Regions from separate parts of the Homo sapiens genome. Here region 2 is linked to region 1. The links are contacts of gene promoters, found by promoter capture Hi-C in human tissues and cell types (Jung and others, 2019). All regions are on one chromosome and are shown on one strand. Each heading gives the region's core, a stretch centred on a gene start or on the middle of the fragment in contact. The rest is flanking DNA. Distances are from core to core; before and after follow the strand shown.

Evidence for each region. Contacts are between HindIII fragments. The study calls those that stand out against the background at their distance.
Region 2: a contact is called between a fragment that was not itself captured here and the fragment with the promoter of RFC5 in region 1, in 2 of the 25 tissues and cell types used here (mesendoderm cells and thymus).

The regions. Positions count from the first base shown.
Region 1 is chr12:118,014,924-118,018,766 of GRCh38, reverse strand. It overlaps RFC5 (replication factor C subunit 5), which reads right to left and starts at 2,064. Exons shown (of 11, transcript NM_007370.7): 1 at 1,875-2,064. The coding sequence starts at 1,939. RefSeq lists a silencer at 1,773-1,822 and an enhancer at 2,187-2,356. The HindIII fragment of the contact is 13,218 bases long and covers 1-3,843 here.
Region 2 is chr12:117,852,885-117,856,727 of GRCh38, reverse strand. It overlaps KSR2 (kinase suppressor of ras 2), which reads left to right. Exons shown (of 20, transcript NM_173598.6): 3 at 1,150-1,300. Among named protein-coding and RNA genes, the nearest start is that of KSR2, 110 kb to the left of the region's middle. The HindIII fragment of the contact is 3,711 bases long and covers 1-3,512 here.

The DNA of each region.
Region 1 (3,843 bases), core at 815-3,314:
ATGGTGGCATACCCCTGTAGCCCCAGCTACCCCGAAGGCTGGGGTGGGAGAATTGCTGGAACCCGGGAGGCGGAGGTTGCAGTGAACCGAGATTGCACCACTGCACTCCAGCACTCCAGCCTGGGCGACAGAGTGAGACCTTGTCTTAAAAAAAAAAACAGAATCCTTTCATATCCTAATTTAAAAAGGAAGAATAAGAAAGCACTTTAAGTTTGAACAGACCAGTGGTTCCCAACCACAGGTGATTTTGTCTTCCTAGGAACATCTAGTGATATCTAGAAACATACTTAGTTGTCACAGGTGGGCAGAGGGTCCTATGGCACTCAGTGTGTAGTCTCCAGGAATGCTGTTAAACATGCTACAGTGCACAGGACAGCTCCCCTAAACCCACCCAGAGTATCTGGCCCAAAATGTCAATAGTGCTGAGGTTGAAAACTCTGTTCTAACTTCATCTTTCCAGCTGTTTGCCTATAATCTCAACCTGATGGGCACCTACTATTGCAAAGTGCATTTGAAACTGAACTCCTACCCAAATAGACTTCAACAGAAGAATGGATAGGTAAAATCTCTTCTGTCCATACAATGGAATATGATTCAGCCATAACAAGAAATTAACTACTGATACAAGCAGCAACATGCATGAACCTTGAAAACATGATCCTGAGTGAAAGAAACCAGACACAAAAGGCCACATAGTGTAGGATTCCACTTACATGAAATGTCCAGAATAGGCAAATCCATAGATAGAAAGCAGATTAGTGGTTGCCAGGGGCTAGAGGAAGGGGAGAATGGGGAGTAACTGTCAATGGGTAAAGGATTTCCATTTGGGGTGATGAAATTTTGGAACTAGATAGCGGGAAGACTCCACAACAGTACACTGCATTCTGAATGTACTTAATGCCACTGAATTGTACATTTTAAAATGGTTACAGGATGGGCTTGGTAGCTCGCCTCTAAAAGTCCCAGTTCTTCGGAGGCTGAGGCAGGAGAATGGCTTGAACCCCAATGTTTGAGGTTACACTGAGCTGTGATCACACCACTGCGCTCCAGCATGGGCGACAGAGCGAGACCCTGTCTCTAAAAAAAAAAAATACGTAAATACATAAAATAGTTACAACTGTCAATCTTCTGGGTTTTTTTTAACCACAATAAAGACAAATTGAACTAGTTACTAGACAATGACAACTTGCAGCTTTTCGAAGCCAAGCCAAATTGCTTCAAAGTCTTGGAAGCATTGCGAGAACATAGCTGTTTAAGTAGGATGGTTAAGAGTACAAGATCTGAATTCAGACTTCCTAGATTCACCTCCAAGCCAATTTTCTCCCTTGGACCATAGGGAAGTCATTACATCTTTCTAAAATGCAGTTTCCTCCTGTGTAAAATTTGAAGCGGTGCCTACCTCCTACGGTCTTTGTAAGGATCGAACATCTAACAGGGCGTCTGCTAATCTAATAATATGCCATTCAATAAAAGTTGACCAGGGAGCGTTATTACTAGTTTAAAATGTGACCAATAGTCGCATCGCAGGTTTTGAAGAGTGGGAAGAGGGCATTTTGGCATGGAGGCCATTGCAGGCGTCAGGAGACGCGGGATCGAACCCCTGTGCTGTCACCAGGTGCGAAAGCCGCCTTCTTCTTCGGCAAATGGAGCTGGGGGTGAAAGGGTGAGAACTGGCAAAAGCCCTAAACAGAACGGACGAGTCTGGGTAGCTGGGGGGTGTCGGGGGAAACCTCTGCAGGTCGGTCCCGGCTGCAGGCCTGGAGACGACGGGAAGAGGTCGGGTTGGGGTCCGGTCACCTGCCACCCCAGCCACCTCCTCCCCGCGCGGCCGCCTGGCCCCCTCTGCCCACCGCCGCCGCTCGGCCTCCTCCTACCAGGGCAGGTTCCTGATCTTGGTCGCCGCGGGCTGCTCCTGCTGCTTGAGTGCTGAGGTCTCCATGGCGGGGAGACGAAGGTGACCAGATCCGCTGAGATCGTCGCGTCACCCAAGCGCCTGCACAGTGACCAGCCGCGACCTGACCCTGAGACCCTGGCACTTACAGTTCGCGCGCAAAAGCAACTCTCGCGAGACGCGGCCACCAGTTTCCGACTTCCTCCCTCGGTCCCGCCCCCTCGCGTTGCTAGGGCGTCGGTTGCTAGGTTACCGGAGGCGCGGGCCGCCAGCGTCCCTCCAAGCTCCGCCCCTCCAGCCTGCTCTGAACTCTCAGATACCCAGGCGCTTCCAGAGCAGGGCAGCGGGAGAGGCAGGGCCCCCTGCAGCCCCAGTCATCATTACATATTAAGATCTCAAGGCCAAAGCCAATTCCTGCCATCGCCAAGCTTCAAACACTTAAATTCAAAGGAACAAAAGCTGCCGGGGCTCAAAAAAAAAAAAAAAAATCTAAGAAAAAAAACAACACCGAGTAAAACGGCTGGGTCTTGAATATAGATGCCTTTGCGAAAGAAGGCTTGAGATACCTCTCGGCCCCCAAGCTGGGAGGTGAATATTTGGAAATGAAAACAACCCCAAACAAACACAACTGCAACCTACCTATCTCCGGAATCCGTGCCCCTCGCCCAAAAAGTTTAGGGAACCAACCTCCAGAAAACGACTCCAGAGAAAAACAAACAGAAACTTCCAGTTGGGTTAATCTGTGTCGCTGGAAGGTCTAGTTCATGAACACAGAGGACAAGGTCCTTGTGATCTGAGATACTGAGGAGAATCGATATCAACATTTTAGGTTTTTTTCCTGAGGCGAGGAGAATTCTAGATCACTTTTATTTTCTTCTTTTTTGTTGGTCTGTATTTTCTTTTCTTTTTTTTGGTGTCTTGCTCTGTCACCCAGGCTGGAGTGCAGTGGCGCTATCTCGGCTCACTGCAACCTCTGCCTCCCGGGTTCAAGCGATTCTCTGCCTCAACCTCCGGAGAAGCTGGGATTACAGGCGCGCGCCACCACGCCTGGCTAATTTTTGTATTTTTAGTAGAGATGGGATTTTGCCATGTTGGATAGGCTGGTCTCGAATTCCTGACCTCAAGTGATCCACCCGCCTCAGCCTCCCAAAGTGCTGGGATTACAGGCGTGAGCCACTGCGCCTGGCCTGGTCTGTATTTTCCAGCAATGAGCATGCAAAGCATCCATATTGAAGTCTTTTCTTTTTTTTTTTCTTTTAACATGATGAGGAAGACAAAAATCCTGGAGGATTTTTGAGGCTGGCCTGGGGTCAGCAGTGTTCTGATTAGGAGGTAGCAATACTCTTTGCATAGGATTACATCACTGTCACCTGCTTCAGGAACACAGCAGAGGGACAGTGGCAAGTATGTGATGGCAGTTATGGCTTCACCCTAGCCCCTGCCTGGGGACCCCGAAGAAGGGGATCAGCTAGGGCTTGTGATGTGACAGTGCCCCTACTCTGCTTGCTCCCAGGAAACTTTAACACTGGGGGCTTAGATCATTAGCATGCCATTTTTAAACTTTTCTTTCTTTCTTTTAAGATAAAACTGGTTTTATTCATTTTTATCTCCAGGAAGGGAATCATAAATGATTAACAAGTTTTTCTTAAATACTAAGGCTAAAAATCAGCACATGTTTACAATTAATTTGCTGACACATGCTGAGGTGAGATATAGATGCCTCTGAATTAAAGTTATAGAAACACATTAAATATTTGTCATGTATTGCCAAATTCTGGGGTCTTTGAACACTCCTGGGGTTTTGTTCTGTTTCGTTTTTGAGAGAAGGTCTCACTATGTCACCCAGGCTGGAGTGCAGTGGCACAATCACGGCTCACTACACTCTCTAACTCCCCGGCTCAAGTGATCTGCCTGCCTTGGGCCTCTTAAAGTGCTGGGATTATTGGCATGAG
Region 2 (3,843 bases), core at 408-2,907, 160 kb after region 1:
AGGTGGGCAGATCACCTGAGGTCAGGAGTTTGAGACCAGCCTGGCCAACATGGTGAAACCCTGTCTCTACTAAAAATACAAAAATTAGCCAGGCGTGGTGGTGAGTGGCTGTAATCCTAGCTACTTAGGAGGCTGAGGCAGGAGAATCGCTTGAACCCGGGAGGTGGATGTTGCAGTGAGCCGAGATCGCGCCATTGCACTCCAGCCTGGGAAACAAGAGCGAGACTGTCTCAAAACAAACAAACAAATAAACAAAAAACAAAAAAAGGCAAAAAACCCTTAAGTAATAACAATATATGTTAAAATGTTGAGTAGTAAGTGCTATAAAAGAAGACTCATATATACATACAGATACTGATGCATAAATATAGAAGCTTGACAAATTTTGAGGTGTGTCCATATGATGGTCTAGGGAGACACTGTTTTGGGAACATGGGGTGGCGGTGAAAGTTCACCTGCCCAACACGTTAAGTTGGGAATCCTACCTTTTCTAGGTCCCTTTCCCCCACTCCACGCTATACTCCAGTGTTTCTGCTTTGCCTTAGGATGCAAAGCCATGCCCCATGGGGCTCAAAAACAAACCTAGTTTCATTTCCAGCACGGGGCATGGACTTTCAGCCCCTTTTCCATTAGGGTTTCTGAAGACCAGTGTGAGCCCTAGACCCTGCAGCCAGAGAAGAGAGGAAGCAGAGAGAGAGTGGGACCCAGCCACCAGCACACCTGCCTTGTCCTGTGCTTGCTCTGAGTTTGTGCTGGGATTTTAGATGAGTCCCTGCAGAGTGGGAGGCACTGAGAGCCAAGCAAACATGAAAAAATGGGGCCCTGCCTTATAAACATTCGAGAGACAGGCACAGTGTTGACGCCAGACAGGGTAGTAATTATAATAGCACTAAGCACCTGCGCTACCTTGCCAAGTATGGACACTTAGGAGTCCCACTTTACAGATGAGCAAAGTGAGGCCCAGAGAGGTTGAGCGACTGGTCAGAGGTTATCTAGATAATGAGTGGCAAACCCGAGATTCGGAGACCCCACTGTCATGCAAAGCGTTTACACTGCGGAGTGTTCTCCTCTAGGCACCACTACAGGGCAGCGTGGAGGCAGAGATGCTGTTCCTGCCCCACGGTTGACAATCCTTCTCCCCTCCTCTAGGAAATCTCCCCCGGCCAGCTGAGCCTGGAGGACCTCTTGGAGATGACGGATGAACAGGTGTGCGAGACTGTGGAGAAATACGGAGCCAACCGGGAGGAGTGTGCCCGCCTCAACGCCTCCCTCTCCTGCCTCAGGAATGTCCACATGTCAGGTGAGCAGGCCCCGGGGTCGGGGATGTGGAGACTTGTCCCCAGCACAGCTGCCGCGGTCCCTCGGCATCCCGTGCCCGCCACTGCAGGCCAGGACGAGACAGAGTCAACCCTGGGGGGCAAATCCGAAACGCAGGAAGAGGCAGCGTGGACCTGGGATTTGGAGGCCGGAAGACACCAGCAAGGGCAGCTCTTGGATTTGAACTCTTGCCCCAGGAAGACCCGCTGAGGTTTAGGGTATCTGGTTCTGGATAATTAGGGTCCAGATATGAAAATATTGAGTGTGAATAGGAGACCAGGGTCTTTTTACTTTAGACATTCTGACGTGGCTTTGCATTTTGGGTCAATGTCTAGCTTCTAATTTTTTTTTTAACAGAAGTAATTTGCATTAATTGTAACATAAACCAGAAAATAGATTTTAAAAAAATCACCCTAAGCTCCACCCTCTAGGTAACTGCTCTTGTCATTTTGGTATAATTTTTCCTGACAAATGGATATATGTATACTTTAAAAAATAGAATTATCCACACATATTGCTTAAATTTTTTTTTTTTTCACCTAATAAAATAACCTCTGTGACTTGTTCTATCAGTTTGGGGGCCAAATATATTGTCATCCCTCCTGGATCTTTTCCATTAATTGCTCAGATACCTGTTTGTCTTTATTAGCAGAACATCAGATATCATCTTCCTGAGGCTTCCTGCTTCTCTTTAGCCTCATGATTTTTCTGCAAATTCTGGGGCCTTTCTGTCCCAAGGGATCCGCTCTGCACATGCCAGCCACGGAGAAGTGTTAGTGGCCATCAGCACGGTTGTTGCAGTTCCCACCACAAGGTGTCACTGTTGAGCATCAGTCTGGCAGAGTCAGGTGGAGGCTCACAGATGCCCTTGCTTGATTCAACCTGCTCTATTCAACAAGCATTTGTTGAATATTGTTCTAGGCCTGGAGAAGTCTTCTAATCTGAGTGGCTATGGGGTGCCAGCAGGGCTGAGAAGGCAGCGGTGAACAAAACAGAACATACTTGAAACAGGTCATCGGCCCAGTCCTCCATGCGTGCCCTTTTGTATTTTTTCTTGCTGGCAGATCCTGATTCAGGTACAGTCAGCATCAAAAGGGACCATGCGGCCGGGCACACTGGCTCACGCCTGTAATCCCAGCACTTTGGGAGGCCAAGGCAGGAGGATCTCTTGTGCTCAGGAATTCCAGACCAGCCTGGGCAACATGGCGAAACCCCGTCTCTACAAAAAATACAAAAAAATGTGCCATGTGTGGTGGCACACGCCTGTAGTCCCAGCTACTCGGGAGGCTGAGGCTGGTGGATCACTTGAGCCCAGGACATTGATTGAGGCTGCAGTGAGCTATGATCACACTGCTGCACTCCAGCCTGGGTGACAGAGCAAGATCCTGTCTCAAAAATAAAATGGGGGGCAGACCATGCACTGGGGGCTGTCTTATGTGTTGAAGGATGTTTGGTTAGAAGCATCCTTGACCTCTGCCCATGAGATACCAGTAACATCCCCCAACTCAAAGTCATGACACATGGAAATATCCCCAGATATTTCAAAATGTTCCCAGGGAGGCAAAATCACTCCTGGCTGACGAGCTGTAAAGGTCATGTTACTCTTTACCTCTAGCACAATGGTGTTGACTCACCCAACATGAGTGTGGCTGACAGGGAGGGGCCTCTCAGTCACTCAGTACATACAAAATCTGCTCCAAAGGTGACTTTCTCTCTTTACCCACAGTGAGAAGCAGATGGCAGTTTTCTCTCTTTAAAAAAAAATTGCAGGCTAGGCATGGTGGCTCACACCTGTAATCCCAGCACTTTGGGAGGCCAAGGTGGGAGAATTGCTTGAACCCAGGAGTTTGAGACCAGCCTGGGCAACATAAAGAGACTCTACCTCTACCAAAAAAAGAAAATTAGCTGGGTGTGGTGGCATGCGCCTGTAGTCCTAGCTACTTGGGAGGCTGAAGTGGGAGGATTGCTTGAGTCCTGGAGGTCAAGTCTGCAGCAAGCTGAGATAGTACCACTGAACTCCAGCCTGGCCCACAGAGTGAGGTCCTGTCTTAAAAAAAATTGCACCAAATTACAGTGTTGTCATAAACATCTTCCTTTGTCAATAAATGCATTCACTTCTTATTTTTAATACCTGAATACTAACAATTTATTCAACCAATCTCCTATTTTTGGAAATATCCATATTTTTCCTATCATAAGCAACGCTGCTGTGAATACCCCTGAGTGTTATCTTTGGGGACCCCCGTGGCTATTTCTTTACAGTGAATTCATAGGAGAGGGGTCTTGCAGTGGAACATTTGCATATTTTGGCCGGACGTGGTGGCTCACACCTATAATCCCAGCACTTTAGGAGGCCGAGGCCGGTGGATCACCTGAGGTCAGGAGTTTGAGACCAGCCTGACCAACATAGTGAAACCCCATCTCTACTAAAAATACAAAAATTTAGCTGGGCTTGGTGGCGCATGCCTGTAATCCCAGCTATTTGGGAGGCTGAGGCAGGAGAATCTCTTGAACCTGGGAGGTGGA